4 separate regions of the Homo sapiens genome follow, and all the other regions are linked to region 1. The links are contacts of gene promoters, found by promoter capture Hi-C in blood cells and fetal thymus (Javierre and others, 2016). All regions are on one chromosome and are shown on one strand. The core of a region is centred on a gene start or on the middle of the fragment in contact, and the rest is flanking DNA. Distances in the headings are between cores, read along the strand shown.

Region 1 (4,999 bases), core at 304-2,803:
GCCAATAACACAATATTTTTAAGCACCTACTATGATCTGTGATAAATCCTCTTATACGGATACATTATTCACAGCTCGCGAGTTAGTGTCTCTATCTCCTTTTTACAAAGAAACAGGCTGCAAAATAAAAATTACCTAAGGGTGTAAAATAATAAAAACACTTAAGCCATGTAACATTAGCAACTATCTCTATTTTTCTGTAAACTTTTATTTTGGAGCCACATTAAACAACTATTTTTGTAGTCAAACACATTCAAATGCATGAATAAATTACGTTCCAAGCCACTTACAAATATAAACTAAATTTGGATTACTCTTATTTCTTTCTATTGTGCATAGCAAAAAGCTGAGGAAGCTTTTAATTATCTCTAGAACTCAACATTTGCCTTTGATGTGAAGTATCATCATTTCAAAAACACAAGCTAAAACTGAAGTGGTGTTCAGTATAATGAGGTTGGTTTCTTATATAGCATTATTAACTTTATGTTCTGAGAAATGAGGACATTTAATAGCAGGTTATAGATTCATGCATCAACAACATTCAGCATTACCACCTAAGGCCAGTGCTATGTCTAAAAAGCTATATTTAATACTCGCAATGTTACACACAATTATGTCTTCAATGAATGTTCAGTGAATCCTTCTTTATGATGCTGATAAATATCGTCTATATAGCTAAAATCGTTTACATAGCTAAGGGCAAATCGCTGTTTACTAGGGATAGTAATGCCGAACGGAGTGAATACATGAAGTCGTAAATTATATGAATGCAGGGTGACCTAATATAGCCAGGGTCTCAATTTAATAATATATACCCGTTTAAAAATAGCCTTATTTCCTTCTCTAAAGCTTGGACTCTTTTTTTTTTTGAGATAAGGTCTCACTCACTTTGTCGCCCGGGCTGGAATGGAGAGGCCCGATCTCAGCTCACTGCAGCCTCGACCGCCTGGGCTCAGGGGATCCTCCCACCTCAGCCTCTTCAGTAGCTGGGACTACAGGTCTGCACCACAGGGCCGGCTAGTGTTTGTATTTTTTGTAGAGACGGAGCCTCGCTATGTTGCTCAGGCTGGTCTCGAACACCTGAGTTCAAGCGATCCGCCCTCCTAGGCTTCCCAAAGTGCTGGGATTACAGGAAGGAGCCACCGCACCGGCCTGGGCTAAATCTGATTCCAAGTTTACACAAGTTTGTTGAATGCCCACTGTGTGCTTAATGAAAGATCAAAGTTTGATAAAACAAGGTCCCTGCTCTTACTGAGCGCATAGCTTTCTCAGATTATCAGGAACCAAATTTGGAAAATAATCCAGAACGCTGGCGTAGGTAGCTCAAGGTTCCCCGCTTGCAACATTTAGTCCAAACCAGTCAATTCTAGGCGGCGGATTTCCCCATCCCCCTCCGTCGCCCAACCTTTGGGTGGGGCCACTCCCAAACGCTCCCTCCCCTCGTCCCGCCATGCACAGCAGTGCGCATGCGCCCTCAGGGAGGCGGACAGTGACCCTGAGGCATTGCCGTCGCGCGGTGCACAGCTAAGACGTCGCGCTTGCGCAGGCGCTCGGCGCAGAGGCCTGCGGGAAGCCAAGATGGCGCATAGGGGTTCTCCAGGCTGCAGTTGGCGCCTTATCAGTATCTAAGCGGAGTGTTTTGGAAGGAGTTAAGGGGCTGTGGCAAACGCCCTCTCCGCCGTCATGGCCCGGCATCGGAATGTTCGAGGCTATAACTACGATGAAGGTAGGTGGCAGGGTCATGCCGGGACGTTCTTTTCCCGGCTACAGCTGGGATCCTAGCCCGTTGGCATCCACTTCAATCTGTGAGTTTCTCGTCAGTGTTGCCCTGTCGGGATTGGGAGAGCCCCAGTTGGGGAATATAACAGGCCTTCTAGTGCTTTCAAATGCCGTCGTTTTTAAGTCATGATTTCTGCCCTCTGGGGTTGATTTTATTTGGGGAGGGGGAGGTGCTGCATAGCGTCATATGGGTAGGATATTGGTGAGGTTGAGATCCGGTGATATTTAGGCACGTAAGCATTATCACCTCTTCCATTGTTTCCTCCCATGTTGGGCACTAACGTGCCTGCTTCTAGCTCCTCTCTCCCAGATCCCCTTTGAGAAATGTCCATGAAACGTTGCTTATTTGTAAAACACAGATTGACTTAATACATTCAACGGACGTGTACCTGTGTTAGATTTACATGGTAAACCTTTTGTGTATGTCCATACATACCTAGTGCAGAATCAGTTTGCGCTAATTTATTTTTCAACGAATTTCAAAGTGGAAACTTAGGAGACGGTAGAAAAGACACATGTTAAAAAGGCCCAAAGAATGAGTCGATCAGATGGATCTTGAAGTTTATACTTAGTTCTTGGCTGGTAATGCTTGATATAAATGTATTTTGAAATGTAAATAAACGGCAGTACTAGAGGAAAGAGTGTATAGGAAAGGACTTTTTGATATTAAAAAATGAAATAAAAATGTCTGTATGAATGTTCTGTAGGAGTTAACAGGAGTTAGAATTATTTTTAGGAGGAGCACATCCCTCTTCATGCAGTAGATAACTATAGGCATCACCAAGCATCACATAAACTAAAAATATAAACAAAAATGAACTAATGCAGGAGAAGAATAAAGAACTATGCTTTACGAAGTGCAGAACATGTAGTGCTTAATATGTTGGTGATTGTCATTGGCACCCCAGTAGATTATTATAGAACATCAGTATGCTTTAACTAGAGTGAGGGCAGCTAACACCCTGTTCTCCATTTGGAACCTGTGACCTCAGTCCGTCTAGAACATGTGAATTTTCTGGTGGTTACTTTAGAATGGAGGCCCTTTTAAATAAATATTGCAGTGGATGGTATTGCATGTGGACCATTGTCACCTAAGAAATGACTTTAGATTGAGAGAGATTTTTGCAAATATAAAGTACATGAATAGGCCTATTTATTATTCATTCATTTCTTTAATAGTTGTTTATCATTTCCTCAACCACCATTAAGTTAGTGCTTAGAGTACTGTTCTAAGCTTTGAGGACTGAAAGTAAGATATTTGAGGGTGGTCTAAAAGGAGAAGATTATACGAGTTACAGATTATTAGAGTATGAAAAATGCTACAAAAGGTACTGAGAAAACGCTATGGGAGGGATACACAGATGAGAACACTTAATTCAGAATGGATTGGGGGGAATTTAAGCAGGATTTCTACGTTAAGGAATGCTTCATGGAGGAGAGGTGGTTGGCCTCAGGGAGCACCTTGGCTTCTTGAGGTTAGGTTGTCATGTTGTCATGCTTCTTTGAAACAATTGGTGACATCATAACCAAGCTGTTCCTGTAACATTAAGGAGGTTCATCCCCTTTTCTTGTTTATAAAAGTTGTACTCATTAAGGTCCAGTTTATTTCTCTTCTTCCCAGTTAGGCTTTCTCTTGAATTCTCAGAATAATAATTTAAAAATTCTGTTAAGAAATATAACCTCATTAGAGAGAGTTTGTGTTCTAAAACCTACTGGTTCCGCTACTTAACTCCCACTTTGTTTTTCTCTGTAATTTATGTAATACTTTACATGACTGCCTCAGTCACTGATTTAAAAGTCTCAGGAAGGCAAAATCCATACTTTAAGTAGCTGGCACAATGTTCTTTACATGTGGTAAATATTTCATAATTTTGTTGATTGAGGAAACAAACTATGAAGATTGCAGGAAAGAATTCTCTTCATCTTTATATGTTGTGGCACTTTAGGGTCAACTTCAGCATTGACAAACTGACCTAGTAAAAAAGAGTTTTTTTTCTTTTTTTTTTTTTTTTAAGAGACAGGATCGCACTTTGTTGGTTGGCCAAGCTGGAGTGCGAGTGCAGTGGCATGATCATAGCTCTCTGTAACCTCCAACTCCTGGGCTCAAGCAATCCTCGTGCCTCAGCCTCCCGAGTAGCTAGGTCTACAGGCATGTGCCCCCATGCCCGGTTAATTTTTTATTTTAGTAGAGACAGCATCCGGCTGTGTTGCCCAAGCGAGATCCTCCCTCCTCGGCTTCCCAAAGTACTGGAATTACAGGTGTGAGCCACGATGCCTGGCCTATTGTTGTCTTCAATATCTAAAAATACTTTGTTTGTGAATGGCCCCTTGTTTATTTGCAAATAAATTTTTATTAACTTGGGATTGTGATCTAATAATTTATTTAATCATATATGTTTTTGCCCAATAGTAGCATTTATCTAATTTTTCTTTGCTGTAAGCATTTGGTCTCAGCCTTTGAGCATGCTGTTCCTGCTGCATGAATACCCTCAGAAACTAGCTAACTCTATCCTTTGGAATTGGTTTGGATATTATATTAATGGGGATCTTTCCCTAGCTGCCCCACTCCCGGTTCTAGTTTTGTCATTCATGTGTGTGTTCCCAAATTGCTCTGTGTTTCTCACATCAGGCACTTGTCACATGGTTTTGTAATTGCCCATTATCTTGTGTGTATTCCTTGTCAGATTTTAGGTGCAGTGATAACTGGAAATGTGTTCACTGTTATACCACAGTTGTCTCAACTACTCCCTGGCATGGTGTTAGTGTTTGTCAAATGAAATTTATGTAAATATATTTATGTTCTTTGTGGGTTTTTAGTTGTAATTAGTTTGATTCATTAATTTATAATAAAACAAATATTAATCTAGTGCCCCATATGTGCCAGGTAGTTGGCTAAACCAAGTCTTGCCCTGAAGAAGCTGATAGTCTCATGTAGTGAACAGGCGTAGCGCTCTGTAAATTGGGTAAGTGTGCTGGAGGGTAACAGTAGCAGAGGGGCTTACTGCTTTACCCAGAGTGGTCAGGGAAGACTTGTGCAAAGAGGAGACATTTGAGCTGGAACCTTAACTAGCAGAAAGAAATGGCCTCGGAAAATCTAGGCAAAGAGCATATCCCAGGAAGCAGAAAAAAAGGGCAGTTAGCCATCAGCAGGTGGGCATAGGGAGTTTAGGGTAAGTTGGTTTGTATAGATGTTACCTAGCTCTCCATAAAGAAATACTAC
Region 2 (4,003 bases), core at 170-2,669, 270 kb before region 1:
CTAGCTACCAGCTTTCTTATTCAACTCATTTGACCCTGCCACCTGCCTCATGCACAGTTCTGTCAGTTCTTCTCTAGCCACAGTGCCTCCTCAGCTGACTGGCATCTTAAGAGCTTCTAGTTCCCCAACTGCATTCTTTTACTTTGTATACCTCAGTCCTATCTGGTTACCTGTGAAAACAAAACTACAATAAGTTGTTTCATTCTCAAGTAAATTTAGCCCTCATTTATGGGGGAAAAAATGAGCCAGAGCTGAAAATATGTAAGCACAAAGTTGATAAATGACAATTATTTAAAAGTTATGTGCACGTGTTGACAAAGCCTAGAACTTACCATGTGATGTGACAAGACTGTATGAACCTTTCTTGTATTTTAATTTCTACTTCGTGTTTTAATAATGGTTTTTGTTCATTAAATAATAGCTTAAAATGAAAAAAAAAAGAGCTAGGGAAGAAAATCTAAATATGAGTTTCTGAAAGCTGTAGATTCACCACTAGGCCTTGAGAGGTGAAAACAGAACGAACGCAGAGAGCCTGAAAACAAAAATAATAATAACTTAAAACTGTCATTAAAGGGGAGAAGTACAGTAGTGCTTCTTGAGAAGAATGCATTCTATCCACAATTAACTTGATAGCATGCTAGGAAAAGCACAACACTCAGGGGTCAGGAAAACTGACTTCTAACCTCAGCTCAACATCTTACACTCATACGCCCCAGTTACCTTCTGTAAAATGAAGGAATTAAATGATATTATCTGTAAGCTTTTCTTCTGTAAGCACAAAAATTCTGGTTCTGATTCAAAATGTAGTATAGGCGGGCCAGGCACTGTGGCTCACGCCTGTAATCCCAGCACTTTGGGAGGCCGAGGCAGGCAGATCACTTTAGGTCAGGAGTTCGAGACCAGCCTGGCCAACATGGCAAAACCTTGTCTCTACTAACAATACAAAAAATGAGCCAGGCGTGGTGGTGGGCACCTATAATCCCAGCTACTTGGGAGGCTGAGGCGGGAGAATCGCGTGAACCCGGGAGGCAGAGGTTGCAGTGAGCCAAGATCGTGCCACTGCACTCCAGCCCAGCAACAGAGCAAAACTCTGTCTCAAAAAAAAGAAAAAAAAGTTGTAGTATAGGCAGCCTTGAAATTGAGAACAATCTGTGTTTTGAATATTTAAGTCTTTTGTTTCTGCAAAGAAATAATTATTATAAATAATAATTGGTTTTCAGGCTAGTCCATGAAACTGTTTAACCCAAAACTACGACTAAACAAAAATATTATTGATTCTAACCTAAGTTTTCAATTTTGACAGCCAAAGAGATGAAGGAATGGAAGAATTTCCTTCGTGATTACCGGATGCTGGGCTAAGCCTAGATAAAATTATCTGTCTTTGGCACCTTCCCACGACCTTGTCTTCAGCCAGGTCCTTCCCATTGCTCCCCTCCCCAGTCTCTCAAGTGCCCTAAGTCCCATTGCAGCTCCCTTCTTCAGTTTATCTGCCACAGTCAGCAGACTCCTCCCCTAAAAAGTTCTATGTGTCTCAAAAATTGTACCACTTCTCACTCTCATAAAATTCTTAATGTCTTCTGTGTAGCTGTTTTAGTTACCTTCTTGTAAGTAGTGAATGACATATAACTTTTTTTTTCTTTCTTTCTTTTTTTTCTGAGACGGGGCCTCACTTTGTCACCCAGGCTAGAGTGCAGTGATGCAGTCACGGCTCACTAAAGCCTTGACCTCCCGGGCTCAAGCAGTCCTCCCATCTCAGCCTCCTGAGTAGCTGGAACTACAGGGGCATGCTACCATGCCCAGCTGATTTTGACACATAACTCTTAAACTCTGTTAGAGGTATATTTTTGTGTTTAGAAGAGGTTGTGTAATGGAAAAAACATAGGCCGTATGAAAGGAAGAAATTTTAGGGCAAGTTAATTCCCATGTAGGTATAAGACAGCATATAAGTTCCATAAGCTCAGCACTTCTAACTTCCAGATCATCTAAAATAGCCAAGTTCCTTCTTCTCATTGTTGGGTCTCCCACAGGGTCAACAGCTGAGGTTAAACAGGAGTAGCTTCTGTTTAAATCAAGCTTTTTAAATCAAGAGCTGCTGGCACAATGGTAGTCACTCTGGAGTATGCCTCATTTTAACGAAATATTACAATCCATTACTCTTTTCATGTACAAATGGAAATATTTTTTAAATTTTCTCCCTTGTGTATCTCTAGGCAGGGTGGGATTAAGTGCTTTAATTTGAGAATGTAGTTTACAAAAATAACCTCTTAGGCTTGCAGATCTTGAGAGGATATAGATATTTGAGCTACAGTGAATTAAAAAGCTAATGAGGCCAGATGCAGCAGCTCATACCTGTAATCCCAACACTTCAGGAGGCTGAAGAGGGAGGATCACTTGACGCCAAGAGTTTGAGACCAGCCTGGGCAATATAACAAGACTCCATCTCCACAAAAGATAAATTTTTTTTAAAAGCTAATAAAATTTGTTCTTCTTCCATGATGATCAAAGCCAGACCTCTGAAGCATATTGCAGTGATGAGTTGATGGCTACGTACAGAAATAAATTCTTTGTCTCAATGATGACCATCTTTCAACTGCCATAATTCCTTATTGTATCCCAGAATAATTTATGTTTTCTTTTGGCATCAGTCACTGCTTTAAAAAGCCTTGTATAGACCAGAACAAACAAAAAAAAAAAACTTAGAAAAATCTGCGACTGTAATGATTGAACTCTCACACTTCATTAGGGGTTATTTCCCTTTCCCTTTTATCCTTTTTTTACCTGAATTTAACAAAAAACTCAATTGCCCAGTTTTAACATTAGAGAAAAAAATGACTGTCAGTAGCATATTCTAGTCTAAAAATAGTAGGAAGAATTGTCCTTGATCTTTATCTGAAGCCAACTATGCAAAGTGAATTATCTAAGGGAGTATAAGAGCAGAATCTAAGGAAGTATACAAGCAGATACTCTAAGAGAGCCTGTCCTCTAAGAGAACAACACAATAAAAGAAGTTCGTACTCCCACTGTTACAAGGAACTTACTCTCTTTGTATCTTAAGGCACTGTAAAGAACAACATGATCAGCTTCCCCCATCACATCTAACACCCTCAAAATATGAGATAAACCCAATAATAAAATCACTCCACATACAAAGACAATTAGTATATCTCATAATCTTAGTTGTACAATTTTGATCAAGTATATCTCAGCAATTTCTTTCAGTTCAGAGATGTTCTTAACCAAAATATATTTTTGTTTTAACCCTTTAAAATTTGCACATAGCTCTTTAGATTCAATACCCTATGTAGATTCAATAGATTATATAGAATATTGGATTGTAAGAATCTTAAATTCAACACTGTATATAGATTCAATATCATATATAGTCCTAACTCCATGCTTATTGATTTCATATCGTCTTCCCAAATTATCATTTCCTTTTTTTTGAGACAGAGTCTCGCCCTGTCTCCCAGGCTGGAGTGCAGTGGCGCTGTCTTGGCTCACTGCAACCTCCACCTCTCAGGTTCAAACAATTCCCATGCCTCAGCCTCCCAAAGCTGGGACTACAGGTGCACGCCACCATGCCCAGCTAATTATTATATTTTTGGGTAGGGATGGGGTTTCACCATGTTGGCCAGGCTGGTCTCAAACTCTTGGCCTCAAGGGATCTGCCCACCTCGGCCTCCCAAAGTGTTGGCATGAGCCACCGCGCCCTGCCCCCAAATTAGTTTTTCTGCGTACCTCTGACTGGTAAAATCCTACCTAGTCTTCAGAGTCTGATACACCTACCACTTCTTCCATTAAGCATTTTCCATCCCCACATCAGAGTTTGTCTTTGTAATTATTTCACTTTCAAATAATGTCACATTTATTTTATGGTTACTTGTAAACATGTCTTTCTCTGACCAGACTGTAAGCTCCTTGCTAATGAAGACTATCTTTTGATGATCTCCATATGTTCTCCAACAGTTCCTAGCAGATATCCTGGCATTTAGCAGGTCCCTGG
Region 3 (5,191 bases), core at 1,229-3,728, 360 kb before region 1:
TCTGTAAGCAGTCTTTGAATAGTTGAGGGTAATAAGTGTTCTGATTGTTTTGGAGAAAAGTTCAAAATGTGTAATGAAAAATAATAGTCAAATCCACAACAATCTACAGAGAAATGGCTACACTTCTGTTTAAAAACAGTAATTAGTATTGAGGAATGCACATCACTAAAAGGGTGGAGTGTAAGCAGGTCCTCTCCCTTGATAATATCCTTTGGTACTCACTAGCAGGGAGAGAACACCAATTATTATTGAGCTGGTCTTCATTTAGAGTGCCTGAATGAAATAGTACATGAATATAAAGATCAAATACCTAATATTGTTTATATGCATCATCTCAGACTCATAGTTCATGAAACCAAGGCCTATAACTTGAAAAAGTGGTCGTCCTTTTGTATATACTGTCTATATTGTTTTATAAATTATTTTTTCCAATGAATAATATGAGCAATTTTCCATTGTGATAATTACATTTCTATACATAATTTTAGTGGCTAAATTCCCTTTCATTAAATGAATACACCGTAGTTTAAACAACTGTTGTTGCACAATTATACTGTTATATCTTTTTCAACATTTAGATAGTGCTTCAGTACACACTAACTACCCTTACATTCCTCAGGAAATAATGTCTTGAGGTACAATGGGTCAGTTAAACAGGCAAAAAAAAAAGGCACTTTCTAATTTGCATTTTTATTACTAATTAATTTTTAGTGAAGTTAAATATATTTTTATTGGACACAGTTCTTTTGTGAATTTTCTTTAATGGTTCTTTGCCCATTTTTCTGTTCGATTATTAATTTTTAATGGATTTCATGGGAACTCTGCATAGTAAGATTAATTACCCCTTTCATTACAATTTTGTCATTTGCTTTTTTTGGTGAATGGCTTTATTGAGGTATAATTGACATATTATAAACTGAACTATTTAAATGTACTATCTGATAAGTTTGGGCATTTATAAACCTGGGAGACTATTGCCTCAATCAAGATAATGAACATATTTCATCCCCAAAAGTTACTTTGTGCCCTTTTGTGTTCTGTTCCTTCCTCACCCTTATCCCAGGCAACCACTATAAATTAGTTTGCATTTTCCAGAATTGTATATAAGTGAAACTGTATATACCATGTACTCTTTTTTTATCTGGCTCCTTTCACTTATAATTACTTTGATAAATCTGTGTTTTAGCATTTATCAGTAGTTTATTCTTTATATTGTTGGGTGTTGTTTAATTGTATGGCTATGCCACAGTTTGTTTATCCATTCACCTGTCAATGGACATTGGGGTTGTAACCAGGTTTTAGCTATTACAAATAAAGCTGCTCCAAATATTCACATACAAGTCTTTGTATGGACATATGCTTCATTTCTCTTTGACAAATTTCTAGGAGCAGAAGGGCTGGATCATATTGCAGATGTATGTTTGACTTCTTAAGAAGCTGCCAGACTATTTTTTAAAGTGATTGTGCCGTTTAACATTTAACATTCCCACCATTAGTATATCAGTGTACTTGCCAACTTTGAAATGGCCAATCTTGGCAATCATTAAAAAGTCAGGAAACAACAGGTGCTGGAGAGGATGTGGAGAAATAGGAACACTTTTACACTGTTGGTGGGACTGTAAACTAGTTCAACCATTGTGGAAGTCAGTGTGGCAATTCCTCAGGGATCTAGAACTAGAAATACCATTTGACACAGCCATCCCATTACTGGGTATATACCCAAAGGACTATAAATCATGCTGCTATAAAGACACATGCACACATATGTTTATTGCGGCACTATTCACAATAGGAAAGACTTGGAACCAACCCAAATGTCCAACAATGATAGACTGGATTAAGAAAATGTGGCACATATACACCATGGAATACTATGAAGCCATAAAAAATGATGAGTTCATGTTCTTTGTAGGGACATGGATGAGATTGGAAATCATTATTCTCAGCAAACTATCGCAAGGACAAAAAACCAAACACCACATGTTCTCACTCATAGATGGGAATTGAACAGTGAGAACACATGGACACAGGAAGGGGAACATCACACTCTGGGGCCTGTTGTGGGGTGGGGGGAGGGGGGAGGGATAGCATTAGGGATATACCTAATGCTAAATGACGAGTTAATGGGTGCAGCACACCAGCCTGGCACATGTATACATATGTAACTAACCTGTACATTGTGCACATGTACCCTAAAACTTAAAGTATAATAATAATAAAATAAAAATAAATAAAAAAATTTAAAAAAAGAAATGGCCAATCTTTTGAATATTAGCCATTCTAATATACATGCAGTGCTATTTTATTGTGGTTTTAATTTGCTTTTCCCTAATGACTAATGATACTGAGCACCTTTTTTTGCATGCTTATTTGTCATCCATATAGCTTCTTCAGTAAATTGTCTTTTCAAATCTTTTCTCCATTTTTTAAATTGTCCTATTTGTTTTCTGATTATTGAGTTTTGAGATTTCTTTGTGTTTTGTGTATACAAGTATTTTATCAGGCATATGATTTGCAGGTATTTCCCCCCAGTCTGGTTTGTTTTCTAATTGTCTTAACAGTTTAAAGAACAGAAGTTTGAGATTTTGATGAAGTTCAAATTATCAGCTTGTTCTTTTATGCATTTTAGTGTTGTGTCTAAGAAATCTTTGCCTAACCCAAGCTCACAAAGGTGTTCTCTGTTTTTTTCTAGAAGTCTTACAGCTTTGGGTTTTACATTTAGATCTGTGGTTCATTTTGAGTTACTTTTGTACATGTTGTAAAGTATGGATCAAAGTTCATTTTTTTCACATATGAATATCCAACTATTCTAACACCATTTGTTGGAAAAAACTGTCTTTTCTCCACTGAATGGCCTTTATACTTTGTCTATACACCCTGGGCACTCTATACTATTCTGTTGATCTGTTTATTTATCTTTATGCCAGTAGCAAACTGTGTGGATTACTGTAGCTTTATAGGATTTGAAGTCAGGTATTCTTTTCTTTTTCAAAGTTGTTTTGGCTGTTCTAGGTAATATTCATTTCCATGTCGATTTTAGAATTTATTTTACAATTTCTCCAAAAATAACCTGCTGGAATTTTGAGTGGGACTGCATTGAATCTACAGATCATTTGGGGAGAATTTACATCTTACCAATATTGAGTATGCCACCCCATGAACACAATGACAAATTGCTTTGTCAGTTTCTCTCAGCAGTATTTTTAGTTTTCAGTATACAGGTCTTTCACATCTTTCTCCTTTTTTTCCCCAAAGTATGTCACTTTTTTTATGCCATAGTAAATGGCATTTTTTTTTTTAATTTCAATTTTTGGTTCTTAATTGCTTGTATATAGACATATAGATGATTTTTGTGTTTTGATCTCAATCCTACAACATTGCTAAAGTCAATTCTAGTGCCTTATTTTTTTAGATTCCATTTAGAATTTTTACACAGATATGGAGCCAGGACCTCAGAGTGAGAACCTCCTTAAATTTTGCTGCCTGTGTGCCTCACTTGCCTTACTCCACTTTAGCTCTACCTAGACAATCATGTCTGCAAAGACAGTTTTTTTTTTTTCTTTTATACAGTTTGTCCATTTTTTGGTAGTTTCAAGCAGCAGAGTAAATCTAGTCCCTACTCCATTTTGGTCAGAAATGGAAGAACCCTATTACATCATTTCCTTTTTAATTTTTGTTGTGGTAGTTTATTTATATATTTAAGTCTTAAATATGATTTAAAAATCACATTAGCTCTGTCATCCAGTCTTCACTGGAATGCAGTGGCAGCCTCGACCTCCAGTCTCAAGCAATCCTCCCACCCACCTCAGCCTCCTCAGTAGCTGGAAACTACAGGCACATGGTACCCTGCCCGGTTAATTTTTCAATTTTTTATAGAGACAGGGTCTCATTATCTTGCCAGGGCTGGTCTCAAACTCCTAGGCTCAAGTGATCCTCCCACCTCAGCCTCCCAGAGTGCCAGGATTAAGGCATGAGACACTGTGCCTGGCAAGTTTTTTTATTTTAATGAAGACTCTTTAAATGTTCATGTTACAAAATCTGTTCATTGGTCCATAAGAATGTTGACAATTATTAACCTTTTCTGACTCATGTAATCCTTCGATGGATAACCTGATAAAAATTATGAATCTGCTTTCCAGAAATGCTTATATAAACACACTCACATTTCCATAGTAATTTCAGTAGTCCATAGACTCCCTGAAGGTTTATCCATTGATTCCATATTATGAATCCCTGTTTTGAGATTTATTTCTTTCATGTCATGTTTAGGAAGGCTTTCCATTTCAAGATTATGTAACTAAGGAAATACTTTTTTAAATGATGAGTTTATATATTTTTTCTCCTTTGTATATATAGACAGACATTTAATATTTTTCAAGTTCATGTGTTTTAAATGATCAAATGAGGTAATGTATGTGATAGCACCCCAAAAAATACAAAGTGCAGCACAGATGCTACCATGCTCATTATCATCATCATCATGATCAGTCATCATCAGAACATTCACCCTTTGAGCCATCTTCGTCACTCTAGAGAATTAAATCCAAAATAAGAATGATGTTAAGAAACAAAGTTAGCTATGAAAGTAATTATTCTTGCATGATCTATAAGGGAGAACAGAGAACACTATAAATAGAGTTATCTCTTGTTATCTATAGAGGACTGGTTCCAGAACCCCTGGGGATACCAAAAATCTATGGATGCTAAAGTCACTTACATAAAATGTCATAGTTTTTGCATATAATCTGTGGACATCTTCTCTCATACTTGGAATCATCTGTAGATTACTTACAATACCTAATATAGTATAAATGCTATGTAAATAGTTATCATACTGTATTTTTTATAGTATTGTTATTTTTTTCTGAATATTTTTTATCCATAGTTGGTTGAATTCATGGATAGGGAAGCCACAGATACAGTGGACCAACTGTATTCAGTATAAGAGAATGTGTAAAAAAAAAATTACGGTGCTTCATTAAATGAGATACTGTAAAACATTTAATAATTATAATTACGTCATTGTAGAAATGTAAGAAATACTTGCATTTAAATTGAGAAATGTTAAATTGTATTTACATTATGATATATAGAATGTGTGTGTAAAAATTAAGAAGGGTACAGAAATATGAAAATAGTTGTTTTAGAGAGGCTTGTGAATAAATATTATTTTAGCATTTCCCTTAATTCT
Region 4 (5,643 bases), core at 948-3,447, 440 kb before region 1:
GAGATGGCTGAGCGCAGTGGGTCACGCCTGTAATCCTAGCACTTTGGGAGGCTAAAGTGGGTGGATCACTTGAGGTCAGGAGTTCAGTATCAGCCTGGCCAATGTTGGTGAAACCCCATCTCTACTAAAAATACAAAAATTAGCTGGGTGTGATGGCCCACACCTGTAGTCCCAGCTACCAGGGAGGCTGAGGCAGGTGAATTGCTTGAACCCAGGAGGCGGAGGCAGCAGTGAGCTGAGATTGTGCCACTGCACTCCAACCTGGGCAACAGAGCGAGACTCTGTCTCCAAAAAAAAAAAATTAGAGATGATTTCTGTACTGTATTTGCTGTGTTATCATTACATAATATTAGTATTTATTAGTTTAGTTGTGTATTAAGCTGTTAATAGTAAATAAGTATATGATTTATATATTTTATTTGTAATTATTTACTTATTTTTAATACAATAATAATGGACATAAAGTAATTTTATTGCAATGTACTGATTACTTTGCTTTTTGGTATTTTCTCTTCTCCTTACAGTACTAAAATAGGTGCCATTTTAAATTCCCAGACAAGGAAAAACCAAGGATTAGAAATTAAGTAGCTTGCCCAAGGCCACACATCAGTAAGTGGTGACACTAGAGCTCAAGCCTGAGTCTTTTTTACTCGCTTTGCTTTTGCTTCTCTTCACTTCGCTTCTCTCTTCTTCTCCTCTCTTTTCTTTCATAGTGGCAGATACATAACTATAAGAGAGCATTGGCTTGGTCCTCCAAAGCTAGCAGTTTGGTGGGAGTTACAGAACATTTTACCAGGGTGAAAATTCAAGGTTGAGGTAGAGGGAGCTACAAAGATTAAGGCACCCTGGAAGCACAGAAGAGAAGTTCTTAAATGCCCTTCAAGGTGAGAATGCTCTCTAGAGAAGATATCATTTGCCTTTAAAGGATAGTGAGGAGTTTGTTAGAGAGACAAAGGAGGAAGCACATTTTTCAGGGGAGGGGATATGTGTGTAATGATACAAAAGCAAGAGAGAACTTGGCACACGTGAAGGCCTGCAGGTAGTTTCACATGTCTGGAACACAGTGGATGTGTGAAGGGGACATTTCATAAATGGCCTTGGACCTCACTGGTAAGGACTTGATATTTTTTTCAATGTGCGATTGGGAGCTAGTGAAGAATTTTAAGCGAAGAAACGACACCATCACATTTGAATTTTAGAAAATTACACTAGTTGCTGTGTAGATGATGATTTTTTTTTTAAGGGAAAGGTGATAGCGGCGTGGAAACAATCTTAAAACAAAAAGCATAATCCTTCCACAGTGTTTTTGTCCCTCAGAGTTACTGTCTCATGTCACTGCCTTTGGGGGTGATGGGAAGACAGTTGGAAGAATTCTGTAAAGAATTGTCTACATGTCCCTTCTACAGGTGTCACCTTCCATTCATTCCTTAGCCCCAGCCTGCTAAGTTTCTGCCCCTCTATAAACAGCTTTGACACACGTGACTTCCTACTTGCAGATTCAGTGGACTTTCTTCAAAACCTCCAGCCCCTTTTGATGCCACACAGTATATAGGCAACATCTCCTTTAAAACTTGGGTTTGCTTCTGTAATGCTTCTATCTCCCAGTTTTTCACCTATCTCCCTGATTTTACTTTATATTGTAGGCTCACAGGATTCTCATTGGCTTTTTATTTTCTTGGAACTATCATATTTATAAATAACTCCCAAATCTTCAGCCTATTGTCTCCCTGCTGGATTAGTAGATTGCCTAACAAACATAATATGATTATATACGTAAACACACACACACGTGACAGTAATAACAGTTGTTGTTTTTGAAGGGCTTGCCATGTGCTAGGCATTGTGCCTAGTATTTTATTTGCATATTCTCATTTAATCTTTATAAAAACACTGTGAGTGATTTACTCTTATTATTGTGAAAGATTAGGAAGTTGATATCCATAGAGGTGAATCTGCTGGCAGATAGAACTGGTATTTGGATCCAAGGATCTGAAAATGGAGCTGATGCTTGTAGCTGCTCAGTGCCCTTCAGATACCCAACTCAACATGACCCATACTAAGCTCAGTGACTGCACCCTAACAACCTGTTACAGTTATAGCTAACATTTATTGTTGCTTCTTCTGTCTACGGTACTGTTCTAAATCATTTAACCCTTACAACAACCCTTTGAGTCGGCACTGGTAGGGTGTTTTTATAGATGAGGAAACAAAAGTCACGCAAGTGACTATGGAAACTAATTCTAGGACATGGATTTTAAACTACTGCCCTGTACTGCATTATATTACAGTGTAATGATACTACTAATCTACTTATTCTAGTTCTAGAAACATGGGAATTATCTCCGATTCTTTCTCCTGCCTCTTCATTAGTTATTTAATCTTTCTAAAATATTACCTCACTCCATCACCTGGAGCGCACTGGTGCAGTCTTGGCTCCCTGCAACCTCCACATTTCAGGTTCAAGCGATTTTCCTGCCTCAGCCTCCCCAGTAGCTGGGATTACAGGCACCCACCACCACGCCTGACTAAGTTTTGTATTTTTGGTAGAGATGGGGTTTTACCATGTTGGCCAGACAGGACACAAACTCCTGACCTCAAGTGATCCACCCGCCTTATCCTTCCCAAGTATTGGGATTACAGACATGAGCCACGGCGCCCAGCAGGCTTTTTTTTGATGAATCATAGTCATAATATAGGTCAGCTTTTTCCTGGCCTATTAGATGACCATCGAGTAGTATAAATATTAAATTTTTATTTGTTTTATGATTTTTCTACTTCCGTGCTCTCAGGTTTCAATTACTCATGCTGTCATTGCACTTGCCTTTGCAGCTTCTCTTTTCTAATTTAATATAGACTAGAAAGTAGAAGACTAGATTTATTAAATTTATAACTGCTAGAAGGAGTAAATACAGGCTCCTATCACTAAAGTATAGGAATTTTTACTCCATGGATTTAGTGATGTCTGTTTTGACTGGGTGCCACGTAGTTGTTGCCTAAGTTAACTGACATAGTTAGGTATGTTTACATAATCATTCCTTTCTTTTTAGAATTTCTTAGACATTTCTGCAAGAGGAACATGAATGTGGATGTCCAGGGAATTGGAGCATTAACCAATAATGCCTTGGGCCCAGTGTGGTGGCTCACGCCTGTAATCCCAACACTTTGGGAGGCTGAGTCGGGCAGATCATATGAGGTCAGGAGTTCAAGACCAGCCTGGCCAACATGATGAAACCCTGTCTCTACTAAAAATACAAAAATTAGCTGGGTGTGGTGGCGCACACCTGTAATCCCAGCCACTCGGGAGGCTGAGGCAGGAGAATCGCTTGAACCTGGGAGGCGGAGGTTGCAGTGAGCCGAGATCACACCACTGCACTCGACAAAGGGAGACTCCATCTCAAAAACAAACAAATCAATAATTCCTGAACCAGCTTTTTTTTTAACACTCTTCAGTTTTAGTCTCAAAAACATGCATATTACATTCTAAATGTTCTAATGTGAGAATATGTTCATTTTAGACATACACCGATTTTTTTAATAAAATGGGCAATTTAGTAATATACATACTGAGTTGAACCATGGTTTTGAGTAGTTCTGACACAGTAATACACATCCAGGTTTTATTAAAGAAAGATGGTGCAAATATTTGTACTATCCTTCTCTATTGTAGCAGAATTTTCAGTGGCAGACACAGAGGTATTTAAATTCACTGTGAGTGTGCTACCCACAAGCATGCTTTAATGTAATATTGAATGCTCTTAGGAAAGTCAATCCTGAGATGGAGTTTGGTTTCTTAAAAGTGCGTTGAAATGTTCATTAATGTATTAAAACACTTTAAAAAGTTTATTAACATACCACATTAGATGTGCACTGCCTTCAAAATGTTTTTTTTGTTTCAAATATATAAATACTTTATTCAGATATGATCTAGTTTGTTTCCCTTGATTTTAGAGCCCTAAACTGATTCAAATGTACCCAAGTCATTTGCATAAGATTGGGTTAAGGGAACATAGCTTTATTGGTATAAACTTAATGAAGTAGTGGACATACAATGGCATGATCTTGTGTGAAGAACGTTTTATAATTTTTATTTGGAAGTTCCATATTACAAATACATCTCCTTTGTTTCGATAGGATCCTGATTGAGTCAATGCTTTGCATTCTCAGTCCTCTGCATAAAGCTGAGAGATGCCTACAGGTAAGACTTCTATGAAATTTATGTATAAAATTTATATTTTATACATTTACTTTTAAGTTTGGTTTATTTTAAGGGATTCTTGAACAGATTAATGAATACAGTAGATGTCATTGACCAAATATACTACATTTAGAGATACTTATTGGTTTTGTATTCAGTTTTCTATTTAATATTGTGATTAAGGTTAGTATGTATTTAATGGATGGTAGTTTGGGACTCAGATGGACAAGGTAAATAATGATTACAACATAGGGTTAGTTTTTATTCTTTATCATCAAAATTGAATGTTTTACTCCACCACAAGCATTGGCAATCTTTTCTAAAAGGGCTAGCTAGTAAATATTTTAGGCTTAGTCTCTGCTATAACTGCTCAACTCTGTCTCTCTGTCTCTTTTAAAGCATGAAAGCAGTTATAACAATTCTTAATCAAATGGGTATGTCTGATTTCAATAAATCTTTACAAAAACAAGTGACTAGCCTGCAGGCCATAGTTTGCCGACACTTGCTCTAGAGCACCCATTCATTCAGCATTTATTAATTTAAAACATAATGACTATGTACACTATGTCAGACCTCATAATAGTAGCTGGGGATGTAGTTATGGGGGAAACAGAAAATATGTTTCTTTATATAGATATAAAAATAATTATATAATTTCCATTTGGGTTGAGTGCTGTGAAGGAAGAGAACAACCTGCTATGTGAGAAAAGGGAAAATTAGATGAGTTTGTCAGGAGGTGTTTTATTTACAGGCAGCATTTAAACAGACAGGTTAACACCAGCCAGGTGAGGAATTAGAGGAAGCTTGCCTCAGAAACAGCTTCATGTGGGAAGGAGCTTGCTGTGACGGAGGAGCTAAAGGAAGGGTATTATAGCTAGAACATAGGCATCTAAGGGGATATTTGTCTTGATTTGAAGCCCTGGAGATAGATCAGGAGGTATGGAGCCCTGTAGGGCATATAAAAGACTTATTTTATCCTAAATGTATTGGGAAATTTTCAGGGGCTTAAGCATTATCTTCTTCATGTTTTAAAGGAAAAACCTGTTAATATTTGTGGAATACTGATTACAGGCTAGGCACACCTTAGCCATTTTTCATGCAAAATGATCTTTGGCATAAGATAATTGTGATTTTACAGATAAGGAAAATGAAGTTTAGAGATCTTGAGTAACTTGTCTAAAGCCACATAACACGTAACTAACAGTGGTAGATGCTACTGTTTATCAGAAATAAAAAGTTAACTTAGCAAAGGAGACTTTTAGAGTGAGTGGCCAAAAAGGTCAGAGGGATACAGGTGAATGTTGTGTCACTAAAGTCAAAATAAAAAATATTTTAAGAAGGAAAGATAGGTGAGTTTTTCTAATGTAGCTAGAGAACTCATGCCGATATTTACAAGAACTTATTTCTTAACATCCTAGTAGTGTAGGTTGTGTGTTATGATAGAGTCA

Evidence for each region. Contacts are between HindIII fragments. The CHiCAGO score rates a contact against its expected background, and 5 or more counts as called.
Region 2: a fragment that was not itself captured here is called in contact with the fragment with the promoter of HBS1L in region 1 in 1 of 17 cell types (erythroblasts); the score reaches 5.1 in erythroblasts.
Region 3: a contact is called between a fragment that was not itself captured here and the fragment with the promoter of HBS1L in region 1, in 3 of 17 cell types (erythroblasts, total CD4 T cells and M2 macrophages). The highest score is 8.2, in erythroblasts.
Region 4: a contact is called between a fragment that was not itself captured here and the fragment with the promoter of HBS1L in region 1, in 1 of 17 cell types (fetal thymus). The highest score is 5.7, in fetal thymus.

What each region holds. Positions count from the first base shown.
Region 1 is chr6:135,051,376-135,056,374 of GRCh38, reverse strand. HBS1L (HBS1 like translational GTPase) reads left to right here and starts at 1,553. Exons shown (of 18, transcript NM_006620.4): 1 at 1,553-1,726. The coding sequence starts at 1,684. It overlaps LOC124901405 (a long non-coding RNA gene), which reads right to left and starts at 1,482. Exons shown (of 2, transcript XR_007059775.1): 1 at 889-1,482. RefSeq lists an enhancer at 1,345-1,394. The HindIII fragment of the contact is 2,164 bases long and covers 852-3,015 here.
Region 2 is chr6:135,318,915-135,322,917 of GRCh38, reverse strand. The region is part of intron 25 of AHI1 (Abelson helper integration site 1); the gene reads left to right. Among named protein-coding and RNA genes, the nearest start is that of MIR548A2, 82 kb to the right of the region's middle. RefSeq lists an enhancer at 1-72. The HindIII fragment of the contact is 1,313 bases long and covers 763-2,075 here.
Region 3 is chr6:135,411,847-135,417,037 of GRCh38, reverse strand. All of the region lies in intron 20 of AHI1 (Abelson helper integration site 1), which reads left to right. Among named protein-coding and RNA genes, the nearest start is that of AHI1, 83 kb to the left of the region's middle. The HindIII fragment of the contact is 7,802 bases long and covers 1-5,191 here.
Region 4 is chr6:135,490,780-135,496,422 of GRCh38, reverse strand. It overlaps AHI1 (Abelson helper integration site 1), which reads left to right. Exons shown (of 29, transcript NM_001134831.2): 3 at 525-609; 4 at 4,132-4,195. The coding sequence starts at 4,186. Among named protein-coding and RNA genes, the nearest start is that of AHI1, 4.1 kb to the left of the region's middle. The HindIII fragment of the contact is 5,606 bases long and covers 1-5,000 here.